2 separate regions of the Homo sapiens genome follow, and region 1 is linked to region 2. The links are contacts of gene promoters, found by promoter capture Hi-C in blood cells and fetal thymus (Javierre and others, 2016). All regions are on one chromosome and are shown on one strand. The core of a region is centred on a gene start or on the middle of the fragment in contact, and the rest is flanking DNA. Distances in the headings are between cores, read along the strand shown. Region 1 has its middle 230 kb from the start of TANK-AS1. Region 2 holds the start of PLA2R1 (phospholipase A2 receptor 1).

The links. The method cuts DNA at HindIII sites, captures the fragments that hold promoters and counts their contacts. A CHiCAGO score of 5 or more calls a contact.
Region 1: a contact is called between a fragment that was not itself captured here and the fragment with the promoter of PLA2R1 in region 2, in 2 of 17 cell types (M2 macrophages and M1 macrophages). The highest score is 5.9, in M2 macrophages.

What each region holds. Positions count from the first base shown.
Region 1 is chr2:160,926,039-160,932,138 of GRCh38, forward strand. No RefSeq gene overlaps it. Among named protein-coding and RNA genes, the nearest start is that of TANK-AS1, 230 kb to the right of the region's middle. The HindIII fragment of the contact is 2,912 bases long and covers 704-3,615 here.
Region 2 is chr2:160,059,052-160,065,254 of GRCh38, forward strand. It overlaps PLA2R1 (phospholipase A2 receptor 1), which reads right to left and starts at 3,564. Exons shown (of 30, transcript NM_007366.5): 1 at 3,244-3,564. The coding sequence starts at 3,352. LOC105373717 (a long non-coding RNA gene) reads left to right here. Exons shown (of 3, transcript XR_007087274.1): 3 at 1,412-1,750. The HindIII fragment of the contact is 10,793 bases long and covers 1-6,203 here.

The sequences.
Region 1 (6,100 bases), core at 910-3,409, 870 kb after region 2:
CAGAGACTACTTGGAACGGCCATATGAAGACAGAGAGAGACACCCAAGGAACCTTAGTTGTTCCAGCCCAAGAATCTGACATGTGGTAAGGAAGCCATTGAGATGAGTCCAGGGCTACTGTCCAATAGCAGCTACATGAGAGACTCCCAAGGAGAACCACCTGGCTGACCCCAGAACTATGAGAGATAATTATAACTGATTGTTGTTGCTTTATACTACTATGCAGCAATAGCAACTGGAATACTTTTGTCTAGAGCCCTGTAATTTCTCCCCTCTGTTTCTCTCTGCATGTCTACTTCATTCTCCTGTTTCTGTCCACAAAGTTCATGCATTTGTCTGTATATTGAGATCATATAGCTGTTTGTCCATACCACGTGCCCTCCAGAAGATTTAATGTGCACAAGAATCACCTGGAAATTTTGCTAAAACTTAAAGTCTGATTCATTACTTTTGTGATGGGACCTGAGGGTCTGCATTTTTAACAAGTTCCTAGGTGATATTGCTACTGGTCTGTGAACCACTAGATTAACCTGTTGCCATTTGCTTTCTCTCCCCTCCCCCATATTAAATCATTTGAAAACAAGTTGCAGACCTTGTGATAGTTTACCACGAGATTCTTCAGGGTAACTCTCCCAAGAATAAGAACATTTTCTATATAATCAGAATATTGTTATATATGCCAAAAACTTAATTTATTTTTAAAAGCTTTATCTAAAAATATAGTCCATATTTAAATTTCTTCATTTATCTCAAAAATATCTTTTGAAGCAGTTTCTCCTCCCTTTGATCCAAGATTCAATCAAGGATTAAGTACCTTTGATATCCGATAATCAGAATAGTTGCTCTACCTTTTCTTTACCTGTCCTTTAAGAGACTAATGTTCTTGGAGAGTCCAGGCCAGTTTTCTAATAAAATATCACACAACCTGGATTTGACTGCTTCCTCATGAACAAACTCTAGTTATACATTTTGTCAAGAATTGGTGGTTTGTCGTAATCACCAATTATGTAGTTTACATCGCAACACATCAGGAGACTCCGGATGTCACTTTGCCCCTTTTTTGGTGATGCCATGTTGGATCACTTAGTTAAGCTGATAGTTGATGTCTTTTGTGTTTCTTTTTCTTTTTTCTTTTTTTTCTTTTTTTTTGACAGGGCTTTACTTGGTAGCCTAGGTTGGAGTGCAGTGGGGTGATCACAGCTCACCGTAGCCTCCACCTCCTGGGCTCAAGCAATCCTCCTACTTCAGCCTCATGAGTAGCTGGGACTACAGGTGCATGCCGCCATGCCTGGCAAATTTTTGTATTTTTTTGTAGAGATGAGGTTTCGCCATGTTGCCCAGTATAGTCTGGAACTCCTGAGCTCAAGTGATCCCACCTCAGCCTGCCAAAGTGCTGGGATCTTTTTACAGTGCAAAGAAGTTTTTTGAAGAAAGGCCCCAGCTGTCTTCCCCTCTCATCTCATTGGCCAGACTGGATCACATGATCACCACTAACCCATTCATTGACAAAGGACAGGGGTGTCCTTTGACTAGCTTGGACCAATCATGATTCCATCCCTGGGGTGAGAATTTGTCAAGCTGTGGGGAGTTGACTAATGAGGGGAGCTATTAGCCTAGAAGAATGGCTTTTGGGTAGACAATCAAGCGTGCCTGCCACATTTACCCAGTATTACAGAGCTAGTTAGAGGACAAACTGCTCTCTGATTCCTATTCCAACATAGCATGCTGCCTCCTTAAGAGATTAAGGATTTATTGCTTATAAAATACTTTATAGGCCTCTTGTGAGAAATCCAATATTTATTTGCCCTATAAGATAAAAACAGGAATTTATTTTTTCTTGTTTTCTTTTCAGCTTTTCTCAGTCCATGATTCTTCACAGTGTTATAATGATACAGCTATTTATAGCCACTGCCAAAAATAAAAATAAAAAGTTTTTCTTTCCAAAATGGGCCAATAAGTTTTATACAGAATAAGTTTATGGGATGTAAATTGTATAAGTTTAAAGCATTTCTCACTCTATTATTCTTTCAAAAAGTTATAGAGATGGAAAATCAAAAGGAGTTATAATTCCATCAGGACAAGAAGCCAAAATGGTGGATGCTTTCATGAAGTTTATCAGGATTGTTAATAACTGTCATCCAAACCTCTCTCTCCTGCAGAATTGGTTGGATATTTGTAAAATGTAGTTGTCTTATGAGAATTCTGGCACTTTGAAATATCATTCCAGCTGGAAACTAGACATGAAAAATATCAAGGTGATTCTGAATCTCTGAAAATGTTTGGTTTAATTCTGAAAATTAAATGTAGTGCCCTGGGGCTGGGTACCAGGGCCATTGATTGTCCCAACCAAGTGATTCTTTCCTCCTAGTTGTAGTAATCTATTCTGTGCTTTCAGGCAATACTCTACATCTTGTGCTTTAAAGGGTTCAAAGACAGCTCTTTTACTAGCTTGCATAGGTCTAAAATTTTAGCATTTGAGTTTCTAAGTCCTCCTTCCCTATTCCCAGCAAGAAACTCCACCTACATCCAACCCCACCCTAACTGGGCCAAAGCTATTTCCCCTCCTATTTATCTATGTAAGGGGCCCACAGGCATCTCTGCATAGACCTAAGCCACAGGCACCCTCCACACATCTCTCAAGCATCAGCCAGTACTTCAGCAATGGAACTTTAGTTTCCATTGTGACTTGAGCGCACAGAGACCCAGATAGCCATGTGAAGAATAGGCTTTTGGTAGAGGGGAGAAGTGGAGGTGTGTAGGGAGAGGAAAAGGGAGGGAATATTGCAGGCAATCTTTACCTGCTTCACAATTTGCCAAAACCAAGCTCCCATTTTTATAGCTCACCACCCATTCTGTTTTCCACAACCACTGACCTTGACATTCACCAACCCTTTCTTTCTTTACTGTAACCTTGACTCCAGTAGAACGGTGCTTGTGGTTTATCTAACCTTGTGTCACCCTGAAACAAAAAAACAGGAGATGGCCAAATACCACAGAGAACTGTGGGGTTATTTTTGTGTGAGGCCCAAACAGGATTTCTACATAGATTTGTCATCTCTCCCATACAATGAATGGGTTTTAAAAACGTGGAGAAATTTCTCAAAACTATTCCAGCTATTTTGTTCTTTGGCATTTGCCCACACACCCCAAGAGAGGTAGATATGAAAAAACAATATTTGACCATGTAGCTATAGTTACAGGCCACAGACAGCCAAGGGAACAGAAATTTAAAAATGAATGTAATATGCAACTTTGCCCTGATTCTGTCTCCCTGGATAAACTCTGCTTACCACTTAAATCTAAGTGTTCCCTAGTCCTCGATAATTGACAGGCAGTGGGAGAAGGTAAAGTCAAGTCTAAATTGAACACTGAATACAAAAGCACCTCCTTTCCAAGAAAAATTCCATTTTATGGTGAAATGATGAAAATGCCCCATTCTTTTGTTTAGATAAATTCCAACCCTGTTTACGCTGATTTCTCCAGAGGGAGAAAGAGAGACTGTTTCTTTGAAAAGCCATTGACACAGAAAAACTCAGGTTCAATTTGGTTTTATCCTGAAGGTTTGAAGTAAAACAATTCTTTGTCAGAATTTATAAATAAGACATTCATTAATTAAGCTTCACAATATTGCTTTGAAGTGAATACTACTGAATTCATTTAACCAGTGATGAGATTCTGGCAGGGAAATTGAGCAATTAGACTTGTTCAGTAAAGCATTTAAAAGCCTAGAAAAAAAATCCAGGAGTTCCCAATGCCTTATTCTCCATGTTGAATTACTCTTAGGCATGGAATCAGATATTCATTGTTTAATTGCAGTAAGAAGGGAATTCTTCTGTGACCCAGATAAATTGTAAGAATAATATAGACAAACTATTTGGAGTATCAGTATTTCCCATCTGAAATGGATATCCAATGACTGTCACATCTAGAGGAGGCCTCTGAAGTCCATGAGTGCCATCACCTCTTTCACAGAACTGAGCATCCGCCCTGACCTCTCTCCAGTACTAAGGCAATCTCCATCCCCAAAGTCAATGCTGCTACTGCACATTTCTGATATTAACAATCCAAGAGCATCTTGAGTCTCAGAGCCTTTCCCTCATGGTCAGTGGAGTCATCCCTGATGTACCTCTGCCTGCCTTTGATTCCTCTTTCCACATCCCATCAACACCCACACACATCGACTCACTGTTGGTCCCCAAGAACAGCCATTTTGTTGTTGTTGTTGCCACATCAAGTTATTTGGATCTTGATTACAGTACTGTGTAATCATTATCTTCAACATTCCTTTACTTCCAGTTTATCTTCTGCCTATTCCAAAGATGTCTGCCATTTTGTGTCATAAGGAACACATTCAATATCTGCTCATCACCCTCCAGTCCAACTCACTTATCCCTGTGAACTTCCTGGTCTTCTCCCCAGATGTCTAGTGTTCTAGTTCTCATCTCTTACTCAGGCAAGCAAGCCCTCTGTGATGGTTAATACTGAGTGTCAACTTGATTGGATTGAAGGATGCAAATTATTGATCCTGGGTGTGTCTGTGAGGGTGTTGCCAAAGGAGATTAACATTTGAGTTAGTGGGCTGGGAAAGGCAGAGCCACCCTTAATCTGGGTGGGCACCACCTAATCAGTTGCCAGTGTGGCCGGAATATAAAGCAGGCAGAAAAACGTGAAAAAACTAGACTGGCTTAGCCTCTCAGTCTACATCTTTCTCCCGTGCTGGATGCTTCTTGCCCTTGAACATCAGACTCCTAGTTCTTCAGCTTTGGGACTTGGACTGGCTTCCTTGCTCCTCAGCTTGCAGACGGCCTATTGTGGGACCTTACGATGGTGTCAGTTAATACTACTTAAGAAACTCAAATATATGAGAGAGCTATATACATATATATATCTTATTAGTTCTTTCCCTCTAGAAAACCCTAATACACCCTCTCTGGGGGTCAAGTGACACAGGCACTTTCTTTTACCTCTATGTCTTTGCTACAGTGATGTATCCCTCTGATTTATATTCATGCTTCAGGATCACCTCATTCACTAGCCTTGCATTGATACAGATGCCCCATTTCTTGTCAATGCTTTATTTATGCAATTACACATATTAATTTAGCAAATATTTATCAATATGTCCTAAATATGAAATACCATATGTATTAATAATAAGAAAGATACAAAGATAATTAAATATGTATCTTGAACTTAAGTATCTTACTGTCTTGTTTGAGACACAGAGTGGTAGCATAAATAATCCTAATACACAGATGGTATTAAATACTACTAAAATGATATAGATAAGGTACTATGAGAATTCAAACCCAGAAAAAAATTACTTCTAAAAAAAGATTAGCAAGAGCACAATTGGGAAATATTTCATGGAAGAAGTGGCTTCATACCATAGCCTTGTACACAAATAGACCAGAGAAAGACAGGTATTTCAGATGTTATGATAGTACCAGCAAAGGCATGGAGGTGGGAAGAAACTAGAAGACAGACAGGATGGAGTTCAGGGGGGCTCAAAAGAAGAGGATATAAAAGGATGTTTGGGGAAATAAATGTGTAGCAAGGTTCTTGGCATTGAATGATATGCTGTGTCTTAATTGTTGCTTTGTAGCCCTTAAAAGCTTGTGATGAGTAAGATGATCGGAGGTCGACTCTAGGAAGACCACTCTGGCATGCGTGCAGGCAAAAAGGAGAAGTTACTTTACAAAACTTTTACAACTGACTTCAAGGAAACAGCACTGAGACCCTGAATTAGGGTAGTGACAGTAAGAATGAGAAGGAATAAACGTATCTAACAGAGATTCCAAAAGTAGAATAAACAGAAATTAGCAACCGGTGAGAATAGAGGATAAGAAAGACTGAGAAGTAGGAAGTGACTCCACGATATTTTATTTATTTATCTTTGAGACAGGGTCTCACTCTGTTGCCCAGGCTGGAGTGCAGCAGCACAAGCACAACTTACTATAGGCTCAACCTCCCCTGGGATGGCTCAGTTGACCCTCCCACCTCAGCCTCCTGAGTAGCTGGGACCACAGGTGTACACTACCATGTCTGGCTAATTTTTTTAATTTTTGGTAGAGTCAGTATCTCCCTGTGTTGCCCAGGC
Region 2 (6,203 bases), core at 2,314-4,813:
TATCATAAGGAGCTCGCAACCTAGATCTCTCACATGCACAGTTCACAATAGGGTTTATGCTCCTTTGAGAATCTAATGCCACCACTGGTCTGACAGGAGGTGGAGCTCAGACAGTAATGTGAGGGAAGGGGAGCAGCTGTAAATACAGATGAAGCCTCTTTTGTTCACTGTTGCTCACCTTCTGTTGTGTGGCCCAGTTCCTAACAGGCCACAAACTGGTAGGTGGCCTGGAGGTTGGGGATGCCTGAGCTAGAGGTAGGAGGAGATGAGTTTCAGACCTGCCAAGTACAGTGCTGTGCACCGTAGTAAGTAATTGTTATGGGGCTGTCAACCTGTCAAAATGTCTGGATTGGCCAGAGGAAGAGGGTGCCATGGTGAGAGAGCAGCAAAAGGACAACACTTAGATGTGTACTATTACTAGCTCCATTTTACAGATGAGGAAACTGAGCTACTGACTGGCAAAATACCTGTCCAGGGTCACACGGATGGTAAATGGCATAGTCAGGATTTGAACTCAGATCGTCTAGCTCTGAAGCCCGAGAACTTAACTACTATATAATACTGTATCTACTGACTTTTGAATACAGAATTGTATTACTCCATTTTCACACTGCTGAAAAAGACATACCCAAGACTGGGAAGAAAAAGAGGTTTAGTTGGACTCACAGTTCAACATGGCTGGGGAGTCCTCAGAATCATGGTGGGAGGCGAAAGGCACTTCTTACGTGGCAGCGGCAAGAGAAAGATAAGGAAGAAGCAAAAGCAGAAACCCTTAATAAACCCATCAGAGGTTGTGAGACTTATTCACTATCACGAGAATAGCATGGGAAAGATTGGCTCCCATAATTCAATTACCTCCCCCTGGGTCCCTCCCACAACACGTGGGAATTCTGGGAGATACAATTCAAGTTGAGATTTGGGTGGGGGCATAGCCAAACCATATCAAGAATTATTGATAAATCATTGGAAAATCATCACAGTACAATCCATCATCTGCCTCCCAAGGCTGGCATGCTTGTAATACATATCAGATCTACAAATAATACATATCAAACAATTCAGATAAAAAATGCTGTATGTATAATCTGCTGTGCATTATTACATAGCCATTATTAGTGGATTGGAAATGAAAATGAGTGTGCATTTTTCTCTCAGTTGCTCTGTGGATGTCAATCGTGGCTAAAGTGAGTCAATGTGGTACAGTGAACACAGCGGTAAACTGAGGCACCCCAAAGCATGGCTAACTACATGGTAGCCATACCTCAACTTCCACATCTGAAGAATAGAGGGCTAGAGTAGACAATGTCTCAGGTTCTTTTCAATGTTAAGATTTTGTTTTTCCATTTTGTATTGACAGTAAAAACTTGACTTCAAACCTGTCCAGCTTACACTTGAAATTCTACTCATGCAGGTGACTGGAGTCAGGGAGAGAGCCTGTGCCTGTGCGAGGAATGGTACATAACCTCCGTGCTCCTTGGAAAATCAGCAGCAGCATTTTCATATCTGAAGAATCTCTATGCCAACTATGTCAACCTTTTCAGATGTGCAAATTGCACCTAGTAGGTACAAGGGCTAGCAGATGGCTCTAATTTCAGAGTGCCCTTGACTACTAAAAAGAAGGCACTGATGAGAATTTGTCTCAGGCCAGTATTTGGTTCTGCTACATATAGAAGGGATTAGCCCTTCACTCGGAGGATCACCAGCACATACTCTCTGTGTGGCCCAGTCCAACTTCTGTCCTGTGGGCTGCTGCCCTGTTCTACCACCTAGTGCCCAGGCAAAACCCACATTTTAAAATGCAAAGGAATAACCACTGCATGGTAAACTTAGTGGGAAGGAATCATACATACTACAGGATCAGATGTGCATCCACAGGAGCAATTTTCTGAATTGACCAAGAAGGTAAGAGCATCTCTGACTTTGGTCACTTTAGAATAAGAATGGTCTTGTTCTACCTGCCCCTGATTAAGCCTCCAGGGAGCTTAGGAAACACAGTCTAGAAAAGACTACCTCAAAAATGTAGACATATTCTACTGTGGAGGAAAAAATGTGAACGCAGATATTGATCACATCTTGTGTTACCCCTTCTCTCCAAACTTATCTCCAAAGGCAGAGAGGATGGAGGCTGTCTGGAGGCTCCTCCTGGCATATTTAACTCCCTCCTGTCCCCCTCCTACTTGCATATATGGACTTCTGCACTTAGGCGCAGGCTTCTCTGCCTGAGGTGGCCCATTCTCAAATGCGGGCCCCTGCAGGCCAGAAATCTCTCCTCCCTCTCTTTACACAACCTTCTGAGTCTCATGTGTAGTAGGTGCTCAATAAGTGTTTGCTGAATTGAACCCCGTTTTTCCACTGAGAGAGACTAAGGCATAAAGGCTTCAGATCACGCAGTTCATGGAGCCACTGGGGCTTCTCTCCCTCACCTGGCCTGATGTTTTCAGGCGGGGTGCGGTGGGTCAGGCCTGTAATCCCAGAACTTTGGGAGGACGAGGTGGGCGGATCACTTGGGCCCAGGAGTTGGAGACCAGCCTGGGCAACATGGTGAAACTCCGTCTCCACCAAAAATACAAAAATTTTGCTGGGCGTGCGGGCGCACACCTGTGGTCCCAGCTACTCGGGAGGCTGAGGTGGGAGGATCGCTTGACCCCGGGAGGCGGAGGCTGCAGTGAGCCGAGATCCCGCCATTACACTACAGCCTGGGCGACAGAGCAAGACCCTGTCTCAAAAAACAAACAAACAAAAAAAGTTTTCCTTAAGGAAGGGATGGACTGGGGAGGCCTGGCTTGGGGGTCACTCCTAGGTGGCGACGCAGACCCTGAGCGCTTGCTTTGCAAGGGGACGAACTGAGCCATCTTTTTGCTATCATTTATCCGTCCCAAATAAGCAGCTCTCAGAAAGTTTCCGTTTTGAAACTTCTCCGACACTCCTATCCCGGGCTGGCTCCGGGCGCCAGAGCCGAGAGGAGTTACCTGCGAGACCAAGCCCCCCCGCCCCCGCCGCCCGACCCCCGCAGGAGCCAGGAGGGTGCCGGGCCGCGCAAGTGGGGTGCTGGGCCTAGACAAGAGGCTGCAGGACACCACCCGCTCCCCCCATGCTCAGGACTGCTGACACACGAACCCCTACAAACGCGGCCGCCCTTGCCCGCCAGCTTGGCCCCTAGCTTCGCCCCTTCTTCCTCTCCTTCGACCACCCCGACCCCCCTCCCCAACGTACCGATCCAGTCCCCGACCCTGGGAGACTCACCCTGCCACTCCAGGAGCCGCTCGGGGGTAAGCGCCGCCGCCACACCCTCGGCGCAGCCCCGCGGCGCCCCCAGCAGCAGCAGCAGCAGCAGCGACGGCGACAGCAGCATCGCTAACCACTGGGCTCTCCGGGAGCCCCTTGTCCCGGGAGCCCCTTATCCCGGGAGCCCAGAGCCGCGTCCCAAGCACCCGGCCCCGCCGCGCGGAAGCGGATCCGTAGCCTCCTCCGCGCCCCACCCCCTCCGGGGGCCTTGCCAGCCCAGAGCCCTGGAGACCCACTCCGCCACCGCTGTCTCCACAGTGAACCGACACTCGGGGCTCTGGGCTGGGATGCGGGAAAGTCGCGGAGGTTTTCCTCGCCCCACCCACTGCGGCTTGGGGAAGGAGGAGGAGGAGGGGTGGGCCATCTGCCCATCCCAGAAATTCCTGCCTTTGGGGTGGGGACAGGCGGAGTGAGGCTGCTCGGGTCACACTCTCCGCTCCTCTAGCTTGCAGCCCTGCTCTCTCCTTTCTGGGGGAGGCCGAAGAGGAGTTGTGGGTGAGCGATTTGAGAATCTCCGGGACAAGGAGCCTGACATCCGGGTTTGCAAACCACCTGGATTCTGGTAAACACCGCGGATTTGCAGCGGGCAGCCTAGAGTGAACCCAGCTGCTCCGCGACGCAGGCGCTTTGGGAGGGTCCTGGACTCCTTTGACTTGTGGAGCACTGGAGACACCTGAGGGGCCACGCCGTGGTCTCCACCTTCCTTGCCCCAGAGTAACCCGGAGATTCTTCTATTCAGCTCCTTCGGTTTTGAAATAACCTCCTCTTTCCAACTCCTTTGATCCCCCAAGCCCCGCAAAGTAGCCGGGGTCCCTATTATCCCATTTTTACAGCTGAGAAACCCTGCCCAGAAAGTCGAAGTGCTTTGCTCTAGGTTACTTCCTAATCCAGCAAAAGTTACTCTCTAGCAAGTAGGACAGCCCTGGCTAGAATGTAGTCGTTCTAACTGTCCTCCTTCAAATAACCAGCAGAACACTGGAAGCGTTTAATATTCTGAGAACAGGCTCATATAAGACCTTTCCTCAGCGGGACCTTGACATTAGTCATTAAAACATAAGAGAGGGGGAGGGGAGGGGCAGAAAGCAGAGCCTGGAAGGAAATGCCTAGCAGGGAGCAAGATTGAAGGTCAGAGCCAAATGGGGAAGAAGGGAAAGTGGTTGCCTTGGCCATGGCCTTAACAAAAGGTGCTCAGTCCTGCAGGAACCTCAGAGAGCCTCAGAACTGTCTGTCGAGGACAAAAGGGGCAAGCGTTTATCCATGGACTTTATCCTTCCCTGTTGGTAAGGGAGATCCTAGGGTTATTAACTCCTCTGCACTGTTCTACAGCAGTGGTGAGTTTCAGTCATGGTCCCATACCTTGTCTCTTAGAAGCCCTGGGTGCATAGCATGGCAAAAGGTGAGGCGCTGTCAGGTTGTTTCTCAGAGGGTTGGGGGGTGGGGGACAGCCGGGGGAAACAGGCTGCAGAGGGGGCTGGAATAAGAGGTGGGTTGAGAGGATGTGAGAGGTTCCAATGTGTGTAGAGTTTATAACATATCATTACATGTAGAATTCAGCATCCTTGCTTGAAAACATGCAGAAAAGAGATGCTTTAAGCCTAGTAGATTACACAGACTTCAGCCACAAACTATGTATCCATCTCTCCTATGGCCTCAGAACTACATTGCTATGGGAATATCCCCGTAGTATTATGATAGAAGATTTGGCCCTGCCCGAGCAGGCTGGCATGTATTGCAGCAGGCAAGTGCAATGCACATGACATAATTAGGTCATAAAACAGGACACTGATGCTAATCTCTGGTGAGGTCCAGGGCAGTGAGAGTAAAGGGGAGAGAGACTAGGCTGGAGTGGGCATAGAGGCCTAACTATGCTCAGATAGTATGGTGGGTATTGGGAGGAAGAGGCTGTTCTAGGATGGGAAGAAATTGTGAAAAAAAAAATTATACAAAGGTTGGAGTGAGAACTGCTTGTATGGGAGAGAGTGAGGCATGCCTGGCTGAAATAAAGGCAGCCACTGGGGCACCCTGACGAATGAGGACAGTTGCTGGGACATTGGGCTACCTCTCACTGGCTGTGGACCAGGGTGAGTTATTCACGTGCTATGGTCCTGTTTTAGTCTCTGTATAATGAGGGGGGAAAATGCCTCCCTTGACCCATAGCAGATGCTATTCTGAAGTAGCAGAGCTAGGTCTGTGAGTAGGATAAGAAGGGAGAAACAAACCTTATTTCATCTTCAGAGCAATTAGTATAATGAAGAGAGGTGTTGACAGCTTCCTGGCCTACCAACCCCGTATTTTCTATTCAACCATTAGAACACTCAGAAAAGAGCTACTTTTTCTTTTTTTAAAAAAAATCTCTTCCTGAAACACTGCAGCTTTGAAATGGAAATCTGTGGTAAAGGGCTTTTTAACCTTCAAGAAAATGACCAGCACCCATATCCTGGGCTCACGTGTGTTTCAGGTTCATGAGGCAGTGTAGGGTCATGGTTAAATGAGGCAGCTCTGCCACTTACCAGCACACCACTTAGTTTGCCCCAGCCTCAGTTTCCTTCTGTGTAAAATGGAGATAATAATGTTTGCTTCATTGTGTGGTTGCATTAAATGAGCTAATGTATGCAGAGTGCTAGCACAGTGCTAACACACTGTAAAGTTCACCTCTGGGAGCTGTGGGTGTGTGGGGAGGGAGTGAGGAGCAGAGAGCAAGAGCAAAGGAGAGCTCAGAAGCCATGCTACAGAGCACTGTGCTAGTGGTAATTATGGCTCTGGACTTCAGCTGGGGAACACAGCAGGGAGGGCTCAGTGCCTGCTGGCCTTTGTACAGCTTCCCATTGCTTCCCTTCTCCTTTGGAGTTGGAATTCATTATTTATATCTCTCACCTGAATGTGAGTTCCAGGGCAGCACACTTCCTGGCACTTAGTCA